Regions from separate parts of the Homo sapiens genome. Here all the other regions are linked to region 4. Evidence: promoter capture Hi-C in human tissues and cell types (Jung and others, 2019). All regions are on one chromosome and are shown on one strand. Each heading gives the region's core, a stretch centred on a gene start or on the middle of the fragment in contact. The rest is flanking DNA. Distances are from core to core; before and after follow the strand shown. Region 1 overlaps SLC39A6 (solute carrier family 39 member 6). Region 2 overlaps FHOD3 (formin homology 2 domain containing 3). Region 3 overlaps MOCOS (molybdenum cofactor sulfurase). Region 4 holds the start of MOCOS (molybdenum cofactor sulfurase).

What was found. Contacts are between HindIII fragments. The study calls those that stand out against the background at their distance.
Region 1: a contact is called between a fragment that was not itself captured here and the fragment with the promoter of MOCOS in region 4, in 3 of the 25 tissues and cell types used here (liver, neural progenitor cells and stomach).
Region 2: a fragment that was not itself captured here is called in contact with the fragment with the promoter of MOCOS in region 4 in 2 of the 25 tissues and cell types used here (spleen and stomach).
Region 3: a fragment that was not itself captured here is called in contact with the fragment with the promoter of MOCOS in region 4 in 4 of the 25 tissues and cell types used here (H1 embryonic stem cells, lymphoblastoid cells, mesendoderm cells and 1 more).

Annotation. Positions count from the first base shown.
Region 1 is chr18:36,118,645-36,124,416 of GRCh38, forward strand. SLC39A6 (solute carrier family 39 member 6) reads right to left here. Exons shown (of 10, transcript NM_012319.4): 4 at 4,851-5,020; 5 at 3,408-3,626. Among named protein-coding and RNA genes, the nearest start is that of SLC39A6, 7.8 kb to the right of the region's middle. The HindIII fragment of the contact is 8,201 bases long and covers 1-5,772 here.
Region 2 is chr18:36,300,938-36,306,892 of GRCh38, forward strand. The region is part of intron 1 of FHOD3 (formin homology 2 domain containing 3); the gene reads left to right. Among named protein-coding and RNA genes, the nearest start is that of FHOD3, 6.2 kb to the left of the region's middle. The HindIII fragment of the contact is 6,751 bases long and covers 1-5,955 here.
Region 3 is chr18:36,255,605-36,261,617 of GRCh38, forward strand. MOCOS (molybdenum cofactor sulfurase) reads left to right here. Exons shown (of 15, transcript NM_017947.4): 12 at 1,364-1,469; 13 at 4,433-4,571. Among named protein-coding and RNA genes, the nearest start is that of FHOD3, 39 kb to the right of the region's middle. The HindIII fragment of the contact is 5,571 bases long and covers 860-6,013 here.
Region 4 is chr18:36,185,043-36,191,003 of GRCh38, forward strand. MOCOS (molybdenum cofactor sulfurase) reads left to right here and starts at 2,455. Exons shown (of 15, transcript NM_017947.4): 1 at 2,455-2,639. The coding sequence starts at 2,498. COSMOC (cell fate and sterol metabolism associated divergent transcript of MOCOS) reads right to left here and starts at 2,393. Exons shown (of 2, transcript NR_134605.1): 1 at 2,193-2,393. RefSeq lists an enhancer at 677-1,499 and silencers at 2,259-2,522, 2,368-2,557. The HindIII fragment of the contact is 25,317 bases long and covers 1-5,961 here.

The DNA.
Region 1 (5,772 bases), core at 2,106-4,605, 65 kb before region 4:
AAGGAGATCAGACAATAGAACTCTGTTGAGAATAGTGGGCTTTGTCCAAAAACTAATGGAGCCACTGGAGGAAGGATTTTAAGTAGTGGTGTGCAACCTCATCATATTTTCATTTAAACAAATCACTGCCCGCTCTGTGAAATCTAGATTGGGAAAAGGAGGAAAACAAAATAACGTGGACAGGCTCCTATTAGGAGGCAGTAACTGTCACTCAGGTGGGAAGTAACCATGGCCTGGACTAGAATGACAGCAAGAAAGATGGAGAGGAATGGAGAGACCATGGACATATTTATTAAAACTTGGTTGGATGTGGGGATGAGGGGGATATCAGAGATGATTCTCTAGTTTTCGGCATGAACAATAACCTTCACTAGCAGAAGGTGAACCTTAAGCAGCAGAAGGCCTATAACCTAAAAATATGATATACAGAATCTCCCAGGGATGCAGGATGGATCTCTTAAGAAAAATCCTAAGTAAAATGCCCTGTTACGAGCTTGAAGAACTCCCCATACTCACAATATAATGAGTAGTAGTTTTCTTTTTGAGAGAATTAGATTAAAAATTATTAAGTAAGTAACTTTAATATCTGGATGCCTTTAACAAAAGATAAACTCAGCATATTCCAAAAAGGGAAGAGAACATGTAACATTTGCAAAACTCCTATGGGAAGTCTTCATCTAGAAATTATGCTTATTTGCTGTTTCATGCTCCTTAAACATTCAATATTTACTACCATCGATTATGTACCAGACACTATTCTACACATTGGAGACAGAGCTGTAAACAAGACAGAGAGATCCTGGCTTTTAAGAGCTTACATTCTAGTAGATACTATTTTAAAGCAGAGTGCATCAAACTACTCTGACTATGACCCACATTAATATATGTAATGTAAAATAGTAATATATAATATTATTGTTGCATTTAAAAATATTGGTTATGACATACAGATTGATTTTACAACTCACTAACAATCTAGAGTTATAACCTAGAGTTAAAAAAGAAAAAATTATTCTGTGTCAGATAACAGAGGGCCTATTTCTTGGAGTCCTAGGTTAAAGAGGGCTAAGTTAAAGAAAAGCTATCCTTAGCTGGGCATGGTGGCATGAGCCTGTAGTCTCAGTTACTTGGGAGGCTGAGGTGGGAGGATTGCTTAAATCCAGGAATTTGAAGCGCAATGAGCTATGATCATGCCACTGCACTCTAACCTGGGCAACAGAGGAAGATGCTGTCTCTTAAAAAAAGATACTGTTTTCTTAAAAAAAGAAAAAAAAAGAAAAGCTGTATTTAGGTAAAATTTGGAAATGAAATTGAAATGAGAATGTTAAATAAATTATGACATTTTGACCCAGATGTACAGTTAAAAAAAGAAGAAAACAACCCAATCCCCAAGTCTCCCAGAATGAAAACTGATCTTTTTTTTAAATGTAAGAAAAACTGCAGAAGACTTAAAGAAGTAGGAATAAACTAGTCCATATATGGCAGATAACCTAAAACTATGATACATGGGATCTCCCAGAGGTGCAAGATGGCTCTCTTAAGGAAAATTCTAAGTAAAAAATGCCTGAAGAGCTCCCAGTACTCACCATATAATGAGTAGCTTTTTTTTTTCTTTTTGAGATAATTAAATGAGATTAGAAACTATTCAATAACATTAAGAAACAGTCCAAGGGAAGCAATTGCGTCAATGGGAACACAGAAGATGACTTCCTTGATTAAGAATAAATAAGCTATTCTTATTTTACTTCTTCCCTCTATATTTAGGTCCACTAAAGAGAAGGCTCAAAATTTTTAATTTGAGATTTCAGTGAACGTAAAATCCCTAAGAGCAAATACTCCTAGTATGTAAACACTCTCCTGTTTACACATGCATTTGTTTCCCACAGTGAGCTCTATGCTCAGCAAAAATCAACTGTGTTAGTTTTGAAACCTCTTCACGCCAGTTATACTTATTACTGTAATTGCACAATTTAATTACACATTGCTCAAACTATGAAATGATGGTAAGGAGTTACTTCTTTTTTGGGGGGTAGAGACAGTGTCTTGCTATGTTGCCCAGGCTGCTCTCAAACTCCTGGCCTCAAGCAATCCTGCTGCTTCAGCCTCCCAAAGTGCTAGGATCATAGGCGTGAGCCACCGTGCCTGGTAGGGGATACTTAATTCCGTGAACACAAAAGCTGAATACTTGGAAGATTCAAAGGCAAGGTGCTAAAAAAAGATATCAAATTACGTAAGGCTACCACTGAATAAATTTTTTTTTTAAATTTCCAAAACCTAGATTCTACATTCAGAATAGCTTTAAGTGTGTAATCTCTTGTTCAATTTTAGAGAAACCAAAATTGGAAATCATAGATGAAGCAGCATGGCTGATAAAGAAAAAAAGAAACGATACAGAATACGGAACTCCAACTTGAAGAAAATCCTGGTCAATATCAAGTGACCAGAATATGAGTGTACAGATGTATTAGGTTAGACTAAAATGTTGAGATATGAACACATCACTTTTCTTTTCTTTTTTTTTTTTTATTTTTTGAGACAGAGTCTCACTATTGCCCAGGCTGGAGTGCAGTGGTATAATCTCAGCTCACTGCAGCATCCGCCTCCCAAGTTCAAACAATTCTTGTGCCTCAGCCTCCCAAGTAGCTGAGATTACAGGCATGCGCCATCTCACCTGATTAATTTTTGTATTTGTAGTACAGATGGGGTTTCACCATGTTGGCCAGGCTGGTCTCGAACTCCTGGCCTTAAGTGATCTGCCTGCCTTGGCCTCCCAAAGTGCTGGGATTACAGGCATGAACCACCCCACCTGACCCACATCATTTTTAAGAGTCTCCTGACAGTCTTCTGAATGACTTGCCTGATCACATCAAATAAAAAGTGGCAAATTACCATAGGCGACTCAAAAGGGTTTTTTTTGGCCAGAAAGAAAGAGCCTATTGTTTGACTTCATACCATTTCTGATCCAATTTGCAAAGGGCAAGTCTGTAAAAGTCACATACCCTTTAAAAGAAAACAGAACATTTAGCTACTGGGTGACTGGAAATTAATGACATTAGTTAATCGTAACTACTAATAAATATTGATAGTGTATCCATGTATACACGATGCTTCTGGTCTTCAAGGCCCTGCTGGTACCTTGTCTGGTCACTTATACAGATGTTCATCCTTGCTTTTCTTATCCTGTCATGAGTTTCAAAAGAATAGCAAAGACAGAAAACTTCAGAGCTATTAAGATATAGAAATGCTCCTCATAAATATCTCTGGGACCAAAAAGTACTTCAAGGGTACTGAACTCCCTCTCAAATAAAGCTCATACAACCTGGGCATGCTATTCTAACAATCTAGTTAGAGTACTACTATAAATAAATATCTGAAGCATAGTAAGTACTCGGTATACTTTTTCTTACCTTTTTCTTCTTATCTTTAAATTGTTTGATCAATGTGAGGACATGTTCAACAAGAAACATGAAATACAGGCCTCCTAGAGCTGTTAGACCCTTCCACGTGGAATCAAAATAGGCACTTTCTTCTATGTTTTGAGAAGACAGATGACTGAAAAGTGGTCCTCTTTTCATTTCCATTGCTGGTTCTTCATGGCTATGACTATGGTGGTGACTTGCATGAGACTGAAGGCAAAATAATTTGTTATTTATAAATTCATCAGTTTCACACACCGAGTCAGAAAGTTGGCTAGGTAAGGTCAAAATTGAAATCATTCAGTTATGCAATTATTCAGATACTTCAGAGATGAGGTGAAGTTTAGGACATTAAAAATAAAATGACCAATGAGCAGCTAGCTATCTAGAACTTAATGCATGTCATGTACTTCAGATACATTCCCAGTGACCCCCATAATATATAAATAGTGAGCATTTTCAATGCTTGACGAATTACCATGGCCACAAATAACAGGAATACTAGACTTAATGTGCACAGTTTCTACTGCTTATTTTCCCAACTGAAAAGCCCATACCAATGTCATCACACTAGCATTGTAAGAAGCCTAGTGTGTGTGTGTGTTGGGTCCTGGCATGTACCCGAGATCCAGGTGCACTGCCCTAGCAGCCTGTAACTGAGTGGAGTAGTAACTACTGCTATTGCACATTAGGGAATCGGGTGTGGAACACACTAAGATACTGGGGGATCACAGAGTACACCCCATACACACGCCACTTTCTATCAGTAGGTATTCCCGAATGTCTGCCATCTGGTGGTCCGAGAGCTTGTCAGAGCAACATAGTTTTCTTTAACTACTGAATGGAACATGAGATTTGTAGTGCTCTAGGTATGGTGTGATTTCCTTTTCCCACATACTTGAAAACCTTTAATGGGAATTTAAAGAATGAAACACGCATATTTTTTAACTGAGCATCTATTCCAAATATCTGATGGAAAAGTAAATTCACTTTACCAAACTTGTTTTATGTGTCATGAAGTGTAAATCTTTAAATACATACATAAACATTCAACTCTGAAGAAAACCTCCAAGTTTCTTGGGTACATAAAGGGTCACATATTTTATTTCTTGGCAATTACACTAACAGATAAAGCAGATAACTCACATTGCTGCAGTCTATCACAGTACTAATAGCCAGGCAGAATTTGTCTCTTTTTATTAAGTGGGTTTCAAAAAGTTAAATTAGTCTGTGTTTTGTAAAAGGAAAGCAAAATTCACAAATGTATTAAGATCGAGCAGAAAAATACAGCTTTCACTTACCAAATATATTTTAAAATAAGCTTTTCTAAACCAAATTTCTAACATTTTATACAAAAAATTCTAGCATAAACCAAAACATTTTTTTTTCAATGTTGAATAATCAAACACTAACAGGACAAATTACTATACTTACATGTGGAAGAAGGTGTAAAAAAGCATCACCACTCAAAGTCCCAACGGCCAGTGCCACAAGGAAACTCAGGAGAAATTTGAAAAACACCCGATTCATGAGAGGCACTAAGATAACCCCCAGCAGAGACAGGAAACTGATGATGGAAATGGCTATAAAACCACCAACCCAGGCTGTCAAACAAAACAAAACAGAGCAAAGAAAAATTATACAACTAATAAACTCTACAAGAAAGACTTTTGGAGAGTAGCATAAAGCAACACGTAAAAGGAGAGAAGCTAAAAACACACAAATTCAATGCAAATAGGACCTACTGTGGCAATAGCACAATAACCAAGAAATCTGTTGTTGGCTCAAATGAACAACCTGACTGGTACTTAAGAACTCTCCAGGTAAGGAGCATAGCTCTAATGGGAAATTCTTCAGGTCGGGGTGAAAGAGGAAAAAAAAATGGTTACCAAGGATGAACTGTAGCTCACTTAGGAACTGAGCTTTCAGACTCCCATAAGAGCTAAATGATAAAAGAATTTTTTTTTTTTAAGAAAAAAGGAAAAGAAAGAAAAGAAGAGGAAGAAACCAGGAATTCAATAATGTCCTCAGAAAACAAAGCAGTGATTCCTTCCTCATTACTTTTGAGCAATGAGACCCTACGCTATAGCAGAGCCTATCCTAGCTTCACTTATCAATAAGAATGCATCAGTATTAGGTTTCTAAGCAGCATAAATGAACCCAAGACCTCTTCCCAAGCAGTGTGACATGATATAAAAATCCCAAATTTCAGGTGATCCTGACACCTTCTTGTAGGATGAACCCAGAGAAGTCATAATTGAAATTTTATTTTCTGGGATTTTTTTTTAAAGGGCAGGGCTAACACCCTTCCTTGCTTTCTTCACATTCAAGGCAAAGAACAACTAAGATGACATAT
Region 2 (5,955 bases), core at 1,530-4,029, 120 kb after region 4:
ACCATGTTACCCAGGCTGGTCTTAAACTCCTGAGCTCAAAGTGATCTGCCCACCTCGGCCTCCCAAAGTTCTGGGATTACAGGTGTGAGCCACCGTGCCTGGCTGGGAGTAAACTTTTGACTGAAGTGGTCACATATACAAAAAAGTGTACAGGGTATAAGTGTGCAGTTGGGTGAATCTTCTTAAAGTAAATGTACCTGTGTAGGCAGCGCTGAGAAGGCCCCCTCAGAGGGTCCTAATTTTTAAAGCTCTCCTAGGGATTCTCCTGTGCTGGCAACCTTTGAACTGGACAACCTGTCAGGCCTTTCCTGGCTGAAACTTGAGTGTGGACATCTTTTCTTAACCTAATGATGTAGTAACTTAGTTCACGTCTGCTGACTCCATTAGAAGTTGAAGTTGTTCATTTAATAAAATTGTCATCTTATGCAAAAATAAGAGATTGTGCTTATTATGCTTTATCATTTTTTATTTCTTAAACTGATACATTATTTTAAAAAACTTCATCTGCTTATAGTAGTTCTAGGGAATATGATTAAATAAACATTAGTTTTCTAACAAAAAGTTCAAATCAGGTGCCATATTCTCATTGGGGAGATGTTCATTTTGATGGTTATATGTTCTAGGTTGGGCTAAGCAAGACATTTAGTTTTTGTTTTGAAATGCTGCAAAAGTAAATGTTTATTTCTGGCTTAATATTTTAAAAGAAAAATGGTAATTATAGGAGTTCTAATTTAGAAAAACCTCTGCAGTAGCATTCATAGAATCATAGTCCTTTTAAAGCTTAAAATGTGTTTGGATTGATTTGTGCTACTGGCATTTAATGATCTAAGGATTCTTTTTTCACTTTGATAGCCAACACTGGAACTGTAGAATATTTTTACAAAACACTGGTGACTTTTTTAGTGTACATGTTAAAATGACAATTATTACTTAATGATTTAATTCAGGAAATGTTTTGTTGCCCGGAGTGAGCTGGACAGAGTGGAGTTATAATAGCTGTCATGTCCTAGGCATTTGCCTGAGCTGAGAACCATCCTAGAGGGACATCAGCTTACCAAGCCCATGGCCATTCGAGGGCCAAGTACTGATACTGTTGCAGCTCATAGAAGGAGAGACCAAGATTGGAAGGAAGTCACCTGGTCACATGAGTGAGAAGTTCCGAGTTGGCATGTGACAGCAGGTCTAAGCTCTTAAGGACTCCACTTTTGTGTCCTGAATGTTCTCCTTCCAGGCAGCCTGTCCACATTTCAGCGTGCATCCTCTCATTGGATTAGCCTTGAGTGTACTGTGTTCATTCCTTTCTCACTACCCTTGTCTTTGTGGTTGCCTCGCTGCCTCAGCTATCCCATCTGTAAACAGCTGATTGCAGTGAGGATAGAATCTAGCTACTCCAAGTGTGAGCTGTGTATCACCTGGGCTGTATTAGAAATGCACACTCAGGTGCTGCCACCGCCCCTCCCCCCCGACCTGCTGAATCAGAACACATGCTTCACCAAGATGGCCTGGTGATTTTTGTGCACACTGCAGTCTGAACAGCATGGATTACAGGTGATTTAGGTCAGGCTCTCAGTACATGGGGGTTCTCACTGTCTCCCCTGTTCTCAGATAACTTCCCTGAGGGAGAAGACCTGGCTGTTCAGTTCTCTGGTGTTTCCCTCGAAGCTAAGTAGTGCTAAGATAGAATGTGCACTAAGTTGATTGATTGGTGTTAGTTTTAGAACACAAATCCACTGGTATTATTGCACTAATGAATTTCCACCTTAATCCTCTTAAGGGACACATCTGTTTGCTACATTACATTAAGATTTTTAAAAGATGAGATCATTAGTAAACTTGGCAAGTGTGTTGTGTCATAGTATCTTAGGACAACACTGTTTTAAGAATGTTGTATGAACAGCTAAGAGTGTCTCCATGTAAGCAGAATCAAATCTGACTCCACTGTAATTAGCTCAGTTGGTTGGAGCCTTGCTATTGAGATCAGGATCATGGGATTGAACCCTTCATGGGTCAGTTGGCTTTGTTTCATGCATGGCCACAGACCATATCGGTAACCTAGCCAGACATCCAGCAGGTGCTGTCATGGCCTCTTGCAACGATCTGGGTTGGAATAGACTGGCATCAATCTTTGGGAAGGAAGGGGCTGCTATGTCATGAACTTATGCTGGAGGCTGCACTGTAGGTCTCCATGTATAGCTTTATTTATCCTCACAACAACTCTAGCAGGCAGGCAGATGAGGAATCCCCAATTAACAGATGGGGAAACTGAGGCACAGGAGGTTAAGCAGGTTGCCTAGGGCTATACTGCGTTTAAGTGAAGGAGCTAAGATTTAAGGTCATCTTTTTTTTTCCTCCAAATCCTATTGTTAACTCTGTCCCATTATTAGAAAATCAGCAAAGCCCATGCTCTCTGTGCAGATGGGGGTGGGGTAGGGTTGACTGCATTGCCTTTGCATGCGGCTGCCTGTCACAGTGCTGTGATTTAAGTGGTTGTGCTCTGGCAAGTCCTCCCAGGGTTGATGCTCTGTGTCTATGCGTTTTGTCCTCGGACTCCAACCTGAGTCCCTCTGGAAAACAACAGGACTGCCATTGCCCTCCCACTCTGGACTCTGAAATGTTAGTTCTTAATAGTGTCGACTTTAAAACAGATTAACATGCTGAGGCCAACTCAGGAACAGCCCTCCCCCACCCTCCTTTTCTCTCCATATTTTATCTCTCTCTGACGATGATACTTTTGAACACTTGGGAACTTTTCTGTCTTCAGAGGACAGCAATCACCTGCTCCAGGCAACCTCCACACCTCATCTCTCAATAACACTGCTGTTGCCTGTGGCTGGCTTAGAGGCATAGCTGGGTCCTCCTCTGCTGGCCATTTTCAGAGTCTTGGGTTTGTCAGCATCTGCTCCATTAGAGAGACAATCAGAAGATTTTTGGGGGTGAAGGGGGAGCTGGGGGACTGTTTCTGAGCTTTGTTCTGAACTAAGTTAGAAAGAATGGGGAAAATTAAGTTACAGTGAATGTTAAGCTTTGCCAATCAGCGCAATCCAGATTGTGAGAAATTACAGTTTCTCCAACAAATAAATTGCAAAAGAAAGAAAAAGGTGGAAGGAAACCTTAGATGAAAAGAGATTAAAGAGATACATCAACCAAAGGTAATATGTGGCTGTGATTGAATGCTGATTCAAATACATTATAAAATAAATATTTGAGATCACTTGAACATGTGAGCAGTGATGTTTAATATTAAAATTATTAACTTTAAAGTGTGATAATAGTATTGTGGTTAGGTTTAAGTAACAGTTTATGGCTTTCAGAGATACATACTGAAATTATATGATGTCTAGAATTTGCTTCAGAATAATTCCAGATAAGAGACAAGTAGGTGAGTCAATATATGGATGGAACAGGATAGACTGTGAGTTAAAGTTGGATTATAGGTATGTGGGGAGGGCTCATGATACTACTTTCTATACTTGTGCATATACTGAAATATTTTAATAAAAGAGCTAAAAAAATTAGGTTACAATTCCAATAGTCCCCTTGGGATCAGAGCTCTTTCATTAAGTGTTACTGTATGATCTGAGTGTGTTTTCTATGGCTGAGATAGCTAACCATCAGTGGATTTTTTTTTTCATACCTCCAATGATACTTTTCTTCCCACCCTGATTGTTGTGTTCTCCTTAGAATCTTAGAAAAACAAGTGTAGGGCATCTGTCTTTTTATGTTCAGGGTGTCTTTCTAGGCTCAATCAATTCCCATGATGAAGTAAACAATTGTCAGTTACATAAACTATTAGCTTAGTAAGCGAAATGCTAAGGTAGAGATATTATACCTGTGGTTTCAGTATATGCTCCTAAATTTTTATTACTAAACTGTGAAGTTGCTAAGGCTATAATAAGTGATAACAATATATAAAGGCACTCAGTTTCCTAAGGCTGTTGATGCCCATGACATGCCTGCATAGCCACACTGGGGTGTTGTCCAGTTCCCAGTGAGCCAGCTCTGCGTCCGCCTTCAGTATGCCTCAGAAGAGGTTCTCAGTTTACAGTGAATGGCAGTGATGCTTTAATGTACATGAAAATGTAAGTTGTATACCTTGGCACCCTTATAATTACAGTCAACATTGATTTTCTATGGGCAGATAAACTTATTTATGAATTAACTGTTAAAGAGGGAGGAAGATCAATTATTTTTTGAAAAAAAATTATCACCAATCTGCAAAATATATACCCAGAAGTTTCTCTGTTTTTAGAGACACATAGTAACAAATGGAATCTACATTGTATCTATTTACAAACTGGAAACATCCAACTCCTCTTCACCAGTTAGTTTTGTAATCTAGATGTTAAAATGTTAGACTCCAAGGAAAAATGTTTAGAGTTTAATGTTAGAAAAGAAAATCTTAAAATTTTTGATCAACTTGAAAAAAGGGAAAATGTTAAACAACTTGCAGTTCAATATAGAAAGGTATTCCTAGACTTGGCAAAAATGAAACAAATTAGTTTCTCTTTGAATATCTTTAACGTTCTTGAAGAAGAGAAAACCAAGAAGGAAACTCCTGTGGTGCTGAGGTGCCTCATCATGCACTGATTTTTATAGCAGAGAATGAAATGCCAGAGCTGTAACCAGAGTGTGTGGGACAAGCCCAAGATTTTTTTAAGTTCTCAGAATAGAAGATAACCAAGGCATCTTCTGACTGCTTGATCAGAGCCAAAGAGTGGCTTGGGGTGTATAGCAAATGAATTGATGGGCAAACACTACCAGCTTGCATGGCTGGACACTGACAGGCTGGAGACTCTGAGTAGTGGGGTGGTCCTTGGGGGAGAAAACGAGGAGGAGGGTCCCTCTGGCTAAACCAGAGCCACACACAGCCTGCAGCCAATCACTGACCACAATTTTGACTAAAGAAGTTTATACCAATTGCATTTTATATCACTTTAACAATTGTTTGGTTTTATTTATGATTTGAGGTCACCTTCTTCAACCCTCCCAGAGTCAATGAAAATGAGCATGTGGTGACATTGGGGTTGAGACAAGTCGTTGATAGAATACTGTCCCCCTCCTCTGTCTGTAGTGTGATTAAATGAAAGCAAAATGAAATATTGTTAAGGGTGCTACACCCTAGAAACCTAGCTTTTAACCCTTCTGAACAATAAGGAGGAAACTTATTTCTGGGAGTCTTAGTGGCTGTGGTCCTCTGATTTCATGACATATGTGCTTGCAGCTGGAAGGGCATGGGCGCTGGAGCCCCTGGGAGAGCAGCCAACAGAGAGGACATTTGCAGTGTCCAAGTGGTGGAGAGTGTGGAGGGCTCGGAGCACAGTCTACAGTGGCCCCTCTGAGGTGCCTCACTCCCACAGCCTCGAGTGTGTTTCTGGGCTCTGGGCTCCATTGTCTGTCTAAGGGTTTGTGTGCTGACATTGCACTGTCTTACTCACTGTAGTTTACAGTAGGTCTTGATGATGTCTGGTGGGGTGGAGGCTTCCTGCTTGCCTTAGAACATAGCCATTAATGGAAAGAGAGGAAAAGTTAGAACCAGATATGTTCCATTCAGTGATCTTAACATAGAGAAACAGGCTAGGCAACCAACTTGTGTGACCAGCCAAAGAGGAAAGAGACATTTAAAAAATAAGAGTCAGGTCATATCACTCCTCTGCTCCAAACCTCCCTTAGCCCTCTTGCCATTCAGGGCAAACTCCAAAGTCCTCGAGTAGTTGGTCCACTTCTCCATGAAGGCAGAGTTTTTTGTTTTGTTTTTGTTTTTTTTAAATCTGTTTTGTTTACTGGTGCAGCCCAAGAGCCTAGAACAGCGTCTGGCACATAGTGAGTGTACAGTAAATATTTACTGAGTGAGAGGATAACCGTGATTTAGAGTTAGAAGGGAGGAAGAATAGTCTGCTCATCCCAGCCATTTCCTTGCAGAAGTCCCTTGTGTAAAGCCTCTGCTAGGAGCACCTC
Region 3 (6,013 bases), core at 2,395-4,894, 72 kb after region 4:
TTCTCTGGCAGAGCCGTTTTAGCAAAGAGGATATATGCAAGTGGCAGATCTGGAGGGCAGTTCTCTCAAAAGTATCCGTTTGCGTCTACTCTGGGGTCCACACACCTGATTTGGAAACAACTCAGTAGGTCCTGGTCCAGGCAAACCTTTTCTTCAATATCTTGGATAATGATAGTGATGCCGGGCCTGCCAAAGGGAGATGGGAACTGGGTGATAGGGTGCCAGCTATTCTGAATACACTTAATATTTTCTTTCAATAGTTTCGTCCCCCTTTTAGTAGTTTTTTTTTTTTTTTTTTTTAGACAGTTTTGCAGTTTCACTCTTATTGCTCAGACTGGAGTGCAATAGTGTGATCTCGGCTCACTGCAACCTTCATCTCCTGAGTTCAAGAGATCCTCCTGCCTCAGCCTCCTGAGTAGCTAAGATTAAAGGCAAGTGGCACTGCGCCCAGCTAATTTTGTATTTTTACTAGAGATGGGGTTTCTCCATGTTGGTCAGGCTGGTCTTGAACTCCCGACCTCAGGTGATCCTCCTGCCTCGGCCTCCCAAAGTGCTGGGATTACAGGAGTGAGCCACCGCGCCTAGCCCTCCCTTTTAGTAGTTTTTAAACATCTACTATCTATTTCTAAACTCAATATCTGGCACTTGCCCAAGGGCAAACAGCTTTTCCCTGATTAGATTCAGAAGCTCTTCCTGGGCCTTTTGCCCTCACCAGGGCTCTCTGCCTTGCTCCGTCCTATCCAGGGAAAGGATGCGCCTGCTGTCATCCCTCCTCCTCGAAGTCTTGCCTCCAAGTCTAATTTGCTGGAACAATTTCATCTCAGCATTTTTCATTTTATTTTTTTAATTTTCTAAATTTTTTTGAGACAGAGTGTTGCTGTGTCACCCAGGCTAGAGTGCAGTGGTGTGATCTCGGCTCACTGCAACCTCTGCCTCATGGGTTCAAGTGATTCTCCTGCCTCAGCCTCCTGGGTAGCAGGGATTACAGGTGTGTACTACCACACCTGGCTAATTTTTGTATTTTTGGTAGAGACAGGGTTTCACCATGTTGGTCAGGCTGGTGTCGAATTCCTGGCTTCATGTAACCCTCCCACCTCAGCCTCCCAAAGTGCTGAGCCACTGTGCCCAGCCCTTATTGTTATTTTCTCCACGTTATTTTAAACAGAGTATTCTAGAATCTCCTTTTGCCTCTTTATTGAGAGATATGCACCATGCTTAGGACATTTTTATTATTGCCAGGACATCACTTTTTTTCCCTTGTAGAAATAGTCTCTACCTTTTAAAAAAATACAAGTCTATGGAAACATGATTCACTGGCATTCTGAGAAAGCAACTCTTCTTTTAAATGCTCCATCATTTTCAGATCAACTTCCTGGTACAATGGCCACCCTTTCTCTGGTGAATGAGGCACAGTATCTGCTGATCAACACATCCAGTATTTTGGAACTTCACCGGCAACTAAACACCAGGTAAGACCTCATACCTCGGGACTAGCAGACAAGCATAACCATTTGCCACTGGGAGCAGGGCCTGGCACCTGCCTGGAGCGGAGAGATCTGAGAGTCATGAAGTTCAGCCCTGCTTCATGTACAGATGAGAAACTGAGGCCCTGAGAAGTAAGCAGGCCCTTTTGTCCAGCTTCCATTCATCTTTATAGAGGGTTATCTTTTATCTTACAAAGATCCTTTTTGATATCCTCAAGATGGTTAATGGAGAACCCCTAGCTCTCACTGTTTAATCATTCAATTTCTTAATGTTTGTTTTAATTGAATTGCCACCAACTTGACTAACTTTTATTGCCCACCCTCCCACTATCCCCTGTCCCCGAGGATCTCTGCCCTACTTCACACAGTCATTTTAAAGGCTAAAAAAGAGTGGTTATGAAAGCTTTTAAAGTTGTAATTGCAGGCACACTTTATTTGAAAGATGCACCACAGATGGAATTAGCACCCCTCCCTGCCCACTCCCACCCAGTGCTCTCCCAAGGACCCTAACAGCATTGGGAGGTCAGCTCCAGAAAGGGTCATGGTTGGGCCAACCCTCTCGTTGTTCTTTAGAGCAAACTGAAGTCCCAAGGTAGCCAGGCAATGAGGAAAAATCACCCAGCTCTCATGCCACAGGGTGACTGGGACGGGCTCCTCATTCCTGGTCCACAGGCCAGAGATGAGTGTTGTTAGTGGCTCACCCCTAACAGCACTGTGAACTGGGGGTCCTGTGACTGTCTTGCACCACGTGGTCAAGTACACACACATACATATTTGCAAAGACATACAAATACAGTTTAATAAAGCTGACTAAGCCACCTCGTCCGCCTCTGCAGGGATGGGCTATTTGTAGTCACTCTTGTTTCTATCCATTGTTGAAAATATACAACATCATTCTCATACTGTGGCCCAGCTCGCTATCTTTGAGAGCAAAAGTGTGATGCAGCCACATGTTCTCTGGGTATTCACTGAGTTCTTCTGGCACTGAGGGACCCTTCTCCTCAGGCATCCAGAGTCCTGGAAAAAGTGGGTCTGCAGTTTTTTGGGGTTCTTCGTGTGGAAAGATAGGAGGTGGGGAGAGGCTTGCTGTCACCCCAGTTCCTACCAGGAGGGGCCACGTTCCCCACCATCTGGTTTATAGCAGGGTGGACCCGCTGGGCAGCTGATCCAAGAGCAGAGCTAGGGTCCCCTGCTAGGTATTTCTCTGTGCTTTATTTGCAAATTTGAGGGACTCTATCATGCACATGTTAACCATGATAGCTTTTGGACATAAAACATGCCCTTTTACGAAGCCCAAAGTGAGGGTTTATAACCCAGAGAGTTGATCCAGAATCAAAGGATTTGAGGACTGGAAAAGTGCTAATCCTCTTGTTGCAGATGAGGAAATTGTGGTCCTCATAGGTTGTGGGAGTTGCCCTTAGTAAGTGGCAAAACCAGACTCAGGTATCCCGGTCTCTGGCTTTTCATACGTTGTTTGCCATTCAAAGGAGATTGGGACTCCTCCTTCCCAACCCCATAGTCTTTCAACCCTGTCTCTGGCGCATACTCTAACCATGCCTGAGGATTTACCTCACACCAACTTAAGCAATTAAAAATTGATTGAAGCACAAAAAAGTGCAAAAGTCATCAGTACACAGTTAAATACAGTTTTACAGATGTATACGGCTATGCTCCATCATTTTCAGATCAATCTCCTGGTACAACAGCCACCCTTCCTCTGTTGAATGAGGCAAAGTATCTGCTGATAAACACATTAAGTGTTTTGGATCTTCACCAGCAACTACCACTACCTAGATCAAGCTAAGAATGTACTCCAGAAACCTCCCTTGTATCCCATCCCAGTCAGCCTCACTGAAGGTCACCACTATTCTGACTTCTTTCACCATAGCTAGTTTCACCCATTCTTCAACTTAATATGGTGGGATCATACAGGATGTGTTCTTTTGTCAGAGAAGTTTTAAGATGTATTTTCAGTGCGTTCTTCTGGGTGGGGGTGGGGGGTGCAGAGGGCCATTTTTTTTGGAACCTCATGGCAATAAATAAAAATTACAAAAATAAGAGTTACAAAAATAGGCTAGGCATGGTGGCTCACACCTGTAATCCCAGCACTTTGAGAGGCTGAGGTGGGAGGATCACTTGAGCCCAGGAGTTCAAACCCAGCCTGGGCAATATAGTGAGACCCCATCTCTAAAAAAAGTAAAAATAAGTTAGCTGGGCATGGTGGCACATGCTTGTAGTCCCACCTACTTGGGAGGCTGAGGCAGGAGAATTACTTGAGCCTGGGATCTTGGTCAAGGCTGCAATGAGCTGAGATTGTGCCACTGCACTCCAGTCTGGGTGACAGAGCAAGACCTTGTCTCAAAAAAAAAAAAAAAAAAGGTATCAGAAAAATAGCAGATGTTACACTGCAAATAGAATGGAAATTAGGAAATACTATCTTCTTTATTTATAATGTTTTAATACCCAAAAAAAAAAAAAAGAGTGAGATCTCAACACCTGTGAAAAGAAGGGGGAAAAAAGGGAATGAGATCTCAGTGCTTCTTAGGTCTTTGATCATTAAGCCTGTTGACAGGTTTTTAAATGCCTTATGCCGCCCCACCTTATAGAACTGGTGTGTTCTCAGAAGTTCCTTTTTCACTGGAGTTCTGTTCTTCTGATTTCCAAAGTCCTTCATCTCTTCAGCTAAGATCTGCTCGCCCTTTGCCTGGCTCTTGTGGGACTCTCACTGGAGATGGGACCGTATCCCAGGGGAGGCCCTGATGCCTGTTTAGCAGATGGGTGTCTCTTGGCCTTGCACTCATGGTAAAAGTCTGTTTTGATTATCCAGGGCACAGGCCACAGTAGAGCTGATGAAGTTAGGTGTTACATGGCAGGCATGATGAATTATTATAGTGGTACAATTATCTGCCATCCTCCCCCTACTTACTCTTTTTGGTTGCTTTAATCAGTGATGAGAATGGAAAGGAGGAATTATTCTCACTGAAGGATCTCAGCTTGCGTTTTCGTGCCAATATTATTATCAATGGAAAAAGGGCTTTTGAAGAAGAGAAATGGGATGAGATTTCAATTGGCTCTTTGCGTTTCCAGGTAAGTTTGGGGAAGTTCTATTATCCTTCCTCCAGGGTTGTCAATGAAGATTGACCTCAATCCCAGACCTGGATAGCTGCAGGTGGGACTCCCTCCCAGTCCTTGTCTCTTAACTACAAAATCTTGGTGGGAGGTTATGTAAGCTTAGCCTTCTAAGACACCCCATGGAATAATCCATCCTTTATTTCCCAAGAGGATGGTAGCAGTCAGTTTCGCACACACCACAGAAGGTGTGCGAGGGCTCGACACTGCCTCTGTGCTGTCGTTATGTCCAGACTTAAACTCTGGTTTTTTGGAATGCTTGTGTCATGAGACTGTCATCCTCCTGAAACTTGTTGGACTTTGTGGCAGTCTGGAGCTTGTGGAGGGAGGCCCAGAAGCCTGGCGGTGCCTCTTTGCCCATGGCCACCCACTCTTCCACACGCTTCACCTTTTCTGCCTTTGCTGGTGGCTGGGAAGGAGATTGTCAGAGGCAAAGCCACCACGATGTCCTCTGTCCCTGGCTTTGGACTCCCAAAACCTTTGGCTATGGGCTTCAAAGATATGAGAAAGAGGCGAAAGGTCTTAGGCTAAAATCTGTGCTCCTCACATGGTTGACAAGGCCCTACGAGATCCCATGCTGCCACTGTCTCTGAGCTCATCACCCCTTCCCTCTCTGCCTCCGTCACAGTGACCTTCTCTCTGTTCCCTAAACAGCCACCCTTCCTGCCTTAGCCCTTGCCATCCCTTCTGCTTAGCATGTTGTCCAAGGGTCTCAGCTCAGATGTCACCTTCTTGGAAAGGATGCCCCTGACCTGCCGCAGGGTCACGTTCTGCTTATTCCTGCAGTGTGTGGGAGGGTGAGACCAAGTCTGTTTTATTCCCTGCTGTACCTCTATGGCCTTGAATGACACTGGCCCAGAGTCAGTGCTCAATAAGTAATTGTTGAGGGAAGAAATGGACAGAAGAGATAAGGAATATCTAATGCCAGAGAATGTGCTCTGTTCTTTAGTGGGGGCTGAAATTATTTTTATAATACAGGCTGAACATCCTTAATCCAAAAATCTGAAATCTGAAATGCTCTAAAATATAAAACTTTTTGAGCACTGACATGACATTCAAAGAATATGACCACTGGAGCATTTTGGATTTCAGATTTTCAAATTAGGAATGCTCAACTGGTTAAGTATACCAGAGATATATAATGTAAATATTCCAAAATTAAAAAAAAAATCTCAAAATGCTTCTGGTGTCAAGCATATTGGATAAGGAATACTCAACCTGTGGTAGTGTAATTAGCCACTGGTATAAACTGACTATAACGAGCTACCTTGTATTCAGGCTCTGCACTCAGAAGGAACACCACTCTAACATCTAGGAAAGCAGTAAACAGTCATTTGAATCTTTATTAAAGAATTTTAGAGATCTGGGGTATAGGAAATAAATTGCATGGCACAATAAAA
Region 4 (5,961 bases), core at 1,205-3,704:
TAGATGGGCATAGCCAACTGCTTTAAAGTATTTCTGGATTAATGGTAGATCCGTGATTTTTAATAACCTTCAGGAGTTCTGCACTGACTTGGCCTATTCCAATCCATCACTAGGCGAGCTTGTCTGAAGCAGCACCCCTGTGGACTGGTGGTTTGTTAGTTGGCTGTAGAACTCCTTGAGGAGAGGTTCTCCTTACATTTCCAGGGAAATGACCTAGGCCCTCCCTCCTCAGAGTGCCATTCGTGAATGGGGCATCAGCATCACCTGGGCTACTTAGAAACACAGAACCTCAAAGAGTCAGAACCTGCCTTTGAATAGGCTCTCTAGGGGATTCATGCAAATGAATGCCTGGAAACCCTGGCCTAGGGGAGACTCTCACCAGGAAGCAGGGCTTTAAAAGGATGGGTGAGGAGTGACACACTGAACAGCTGCTGGGAGGACCAACTCACCCCTCTCAACTTAGATGGGGAAACTGAGGCCCTGGGAACCACGGTGGCTCACACCAGAGAGTTAGCAAAACACACTTCCCTGCCTGGGCTCTGGAGACTGACTTCCCAGGTGCTAGCTTGTCTTCTAGCTGTGTGCCCGTGTGCAAGTTATTCTGCCTCTCTCTGCCTCAGCTTCCCCATCTGTAAGAGCCACCTCCTAGATCTGCATATTTAATCATTGAACGACCAGGACAGGTAAGAGTGTACACAGTGCAGTGCCTGGCACACAGTGAGGCCCTGTAACTAGCTCTTGTTATTAGTGCTGCCCAAAGCCACATTCACAGAAGACAGTCCAGTATCCAAAGTGCCTGCTTGAAGCATGGCCAGAAGGCAAGCAGATGGTGGGGTGGGCAGTGATGTCAATGAGCAAATGCCTGCATCCATCCATCAGTACATTAACTCCTCCTCGAACAACTATGGGTGTTTGTCGAGTAAGGTCCTGGACATTCAGCAGTGAGGGAGAGAGCGGGGGTGGTCAGTGGGCAGAGGCCACTGAGGAATATGGGTACCTGGGCATGGACCCTAGCGCTGCAGTCCACAGACCCCTGGGTCTCCGGCCAGGGGGAAATGAGCTCTTAGTGGCGGGTCTTTCTCTGGCCTGGTATCAGGGGCCTGGGCGGGAGAGCCAGGGCTGCGTGCTGCCTTCCCATGGCTCTCACGCTGGGCACCGGTATGCATCATGCATCAGCAAGGATCCTAGGGCATCTGCGGCCCATACCCTGGGTGGCAGCTGGCCTGGATGCAGCACAGGTTGAGCTCTTGGGGCATAGGCCTCCTTCCCACCTTGTCCCCCCGCTGTATGCCTCCAGGGCCTGTGGGCCGCCTGCACCTGGTCGCCGGCCTTGGGTTCTCCACCGAGCCTGCCTCTGAGTTATCTCCCCTGAGCCCCAGCACCTGCCGCCCATCCGCACTGTCCACCATCCCTGACATTCGATTCCCCCACGAGGCACCTCGCCTGTGCGTGCAGTACCTGTTTTGCTTCCACCCCATTCCCAGCAGCGGGTTCCGCACCTGGGATCGCACGTGAGATTTCCCCCCACCCCCCAACCGCATGCCTGGGCTCTACTACCTGCACCTGCCGCCCCACCCCTGCATCCCGCTCCGCACTTCCCGCGCATAGGTTTGGCCAGGCCCTCCCTATTGAGGCACCTGTTCTCCAAGACAGAGCCGCTGTGTCCCAGGTGCTCTGGGTGCAGGCGCGAGTGGGGATTGAAGGAGGCGCTCTTATTCCACTCTGTCCGGGACAGGGGCGGCTTTGTCCTAGGGCACTCTTGCTTTAATAGAGAGGGCCCGGCCACACCCACGTGCGGGAAGTGCGGGGCGGGATGCAGGGTTGGGGAGGCAAGGGCAGGAAGTAGGGCCCAGGACGCGGTTGGGAGGGCGGGGAAGCTCAGCTCACTTGGATCCCAGCTGCAGGGCCCGCTCCGGGGGAAGCCCCCGAGCTTCCCGGTTCCGAAAGTGTGCAGCCACTGAGAATTTATTAGCCTCGTGGATCCCTAATCTTTCCCCTTTTCTACCCTTTGGTCAGCCGCATTCTAACAAACGGCAAGCACACGCCCCGCTGGGTAGCAGCAACCCGAGAACGCCCCCACCCCCGCCCCCGCCAGACGCCGGTTCCCGCTTGAGAGGGTGAGGGTCCCGAGACCCCTGCGAGGAGGAGGGTCGCGGGGTTCCAGGATGCCGATGCCAAGCAGGAAAGATCACCTCGTTGCTTCTTCCACCGGCCTCTCCGCGAGACATAGCTAAACTTGAACTTGGCATTCCAAGGGTCTGGAAACATCTTCGTGGGACCCATCGAGAGGTTGTTTAAAGACTGGCACCCGCTCCCGCGCCCAGGTGGGGAAAGGGCTGGCCAGAAGTGAAAGTCCGGTCGGGGCGCCACACCTAGGCTGCGGATTCCGAGAGACTGGGAGGCTGGAGGCCTGGGAGGCGTGGCGGGGGCGGAGTCGCCGGGGGCCGGCTTCGCGCACTTCCCGGGCCCGGCCGGCCTGGATGGACTAGCCGGGGCCATGGCCGGCGCGGCGGCGGAGTCAGGGCGGGAGCTGTGGACCTTCGCGGGTTCCCGGGACCCGAGCGCACCGCGGCTAGCCTACGGCTACGGCCCGGGCAGCCTGCGCGAGCTGCGGGCGCGCGAGTTCAGCCGCCTGGCAGGTGAGGCGGGCGGGCAGGCTTGGGGGACACGAGGTTTCTGGAACCGACGTGGACGGATCTTTTGCTCCTAGTGAGAGCGGCGCTACCTCATTCGGGCGCATTTTGAATCGAAACTCCAGGAGGGACGTGTCCACGCGTCCTCCTAGTAGACACGGCTCCCTGAGGTCCCACCTGCAGCCCCAAGGCTTCTTGCTACTCTTACTCTTCCGACTTTCCGGTGGGCAGGACCAACCTAGCCGTCTTCCCCTTTTCCCGCCCTCCGCGAGCGGGGCTTAGGATGGTTCTTGCCCTCTCTTGCGGGAGACCCCTCACTGTAAAGGGCCTGCTGGGGCCGGGGTTGCAAAAGACAGCATGTCCAGCGGCCGTGACCCTTCGGATGTCCTCCCGAGGTAGGAGCGGTGCGTGGACCGCCAGCGCCCGGGCTGGGACAGCACCTCTGACGGCGCGCCAGGTTGGGACCGGGAGGCCAAGGCCTCTTGGCCGGGGCCTCCCGAGGCTGCGCTCTGCAGACTCCTCTGGGATAGCCTGTATTCAGCTTTGATTTTCGAAACCTCATTTTCCTTACTCTTACAGCGTCAGAACAATCCCTCTGAGCTCCAGTTCTCTGGGGGACTAGAAGAATTAGCAAACAGTGCAATTTCACCTTTAAGAACAGGGCGAGCCTGTGAATTAGACAACACCAAGATCACATCGTGCCTTTCCTCAGAGCGGAACAGGCTGATGAAATTGCAAATCAAGCTCCATCTGGCCTTGGCCGACCCAGCCCTCTGCTGCCAGGGCCCAAGTTCGTGACTCATCCCTCTGCCAGGGACTTTGGGTGCAGGGCTTCATCAAGCCCCAGGGCCGCGTGCCGGATGGTCAAGGAGGGTGTGCAGGTGAAGTGGGCACGTCTTGGCACAGGGCACCGGGGTTTGAGTGTATCTGCTCTGTCGCGATGAACAACTGGTGACTGCTCCCCTTCTGGGGGCAGAACAGCAACCATGACTTAGGTTTCACTACTCGGGTAGCTGATTTCAGCGCTTCGGGTCACTTCCTGGTGTTGTGGAGGGTAACTGTGTTTTCCCTTTGGGGGCTGTGAGAACTGTGGCCTCCTCCTGTGTGTCTCCTCTGGCTTCCTAAGTAGGGAGAGTCAGGAGGGAGACGGGGGTGCCTTCTGCCAACCTCTCTATTCACTCCTCATCCTTCCCTCTCGCAGGGTCACCTGCTGGAGACAGCTCCTCACCCTTCTTTCGTATTCTCTCTCTCTCTCTCTCTCTCAACTATTAATTATGGAAATTTCCTACCACTCAGAAATAGAGGGGTACTATGAATGCCTACAGGTGCTGGGGAGGGAGGCTCTCCATTCTTTGAAGCAACTCTTCAAGGCTACCTGAGTAATTATATCAGCACCGCACCTCCTTAATCCCCTAAATCTCCTCCAGCTGTGATCTCTCACGCCCACTATTGGCCAACCTCTCCCCTCAATGCTACCCTGGGAAAGTAGAGCTATGTTCTGGTCCCCTCCTGGTTTCACTCTTGTCCCTCAGAGAACAGTACTTTTCCCCTCAAATGCAAAATTGGGATGTGTCAGCCAGGCTGGCCCTCAGAACTCGTTACCACTTACTGTATGTCTGGTAGTGTTGTGGGCATCTTTTATTTAATGCAAGTTCCTTGTATTTCCTCTACATTACGGTTAAAGCAGACATTTGTGCACTAATCTGACGCCCCTCCCACTGCTGGGAGTCTTGGAACATGTCCACTTGTTTTTCTCCTAGAAACAAGACAGAGAGAGGGCGGGAAAAAACAAACCAAAATAACATCACCTCTTCCTCGTTCCTCCTCTCCCCTCATGAAGTTTTTCTGCCAATTTGAGAATTACTCTGGTTAAGTGGTGGCTCAGAATAATTAAATGCTTAAGATTTAAGTGCTGAAATGTGTTACCTAAAGATTTGGATGGGAACTTCCTTGCCTTTGTGAAGGGAGAGTATTGAATATACGGATGTGTGTCAAGGGTCTCTGGAAGCCTTCGTGCTGAATCATGACCACTCACCATGCTGGAAAGAGAACTGGAGGGGGATGACCTAGAGCTGACCCTGGAATTCTCTTTCCTGAAGAAGGTCTGATGCCATTTAACTTTGGGGTAATTCACCTGTTTCTAATAACAGCTACACCTGTGTCCCGAGCATTGGACTGGATGCTGCCATATAGCAGCTCATTTAACCTTTGTCCCATCTGCAGATGAAAGAACAGGGGCCCAGAATGGCTACTGGTGGAGCCAGGATTCAAGTCTGGGTTGATTGACTTGGATTTTGTACTGTTAACCCCTATGCTGCCTGACTTTCTCCTAACATCACATCTATGGGTGATTTAACACAGCTTTCCCACCCTTTTGTTTTTCCTGCAAAATTAACCATTGGACCAAAAGCCAAAGCATCTTCTTCTCCAATAGCTACTTGGCCCTCCAGAAGACTGTGGCACAGTGTGAGATGCTCCCCAGCAGCTTCCAGGTCTCACCTGTGGCCTTGATGCCTGGGTGAACAAAAGCCTTTCTTTTGGTTTGGTACCTTTGTATTTCTGAATCTTTAGTAAAAGCGAACATTGTTTTAAAAGTATCTTTTTGGACTAGCTCATACATTTGATATGGTTTGGCTCTGTGTCCCCACCTAAATCTCGTGTTGAATTGTAATTCCCAGTGTTGGGGGAGGGACCTGGTAGGAGGTGATTGGATCAAGGGGGTGGATTTCCCCCTTGCAGTTCTCGTGAGGGTGCGTTCTCACAAGATCCGGTTGTTTAAAGTGTGTAGCACAAACTGGGTATGGTGGCTCAAGCCTGTAATCCTAGCACTTGGGAGGCTGAGGTGGGCAGATCACTTGAGCCCAGGAGTTCAAGACCAGCCTGGGCAACATGGTGAAACCCCGTCTCTACAAAATATACAAAAATTAGGCAGGCATGGTAGCTCATGCCTAAAGTCCCAGCTACTGTGGAGGCTGAGGTGGGAGAATTGCTTGAGCCTGGAAAGTCAGAGCTGCAGTGAGCTGAGATTGCACCACTTCACTCCAGTCTGGGCAACAGAGTGAGACCCTGTCTCAAAAAAAACAAAAAAACAAAACAAAACAAAAAAACTTTCTTTGGCCAGGTGCAGTGGCTCATACCTGTAATCCCAGCACTTTGGGAGGCCAGCCTGGCCAACATGGCAAAACCCAGTCTCTACTAAAAATATAAAAAAATTAGCCCGGTGTGGTGGCACATGCCTGTAATCCCAGCTATTTGGGAGGCTGAACCTGGGAGGTGGAGGTTGCAGTGAGCCAAGATTGAGCCCCTGCACTCTAGCCTGGGTGGCAGA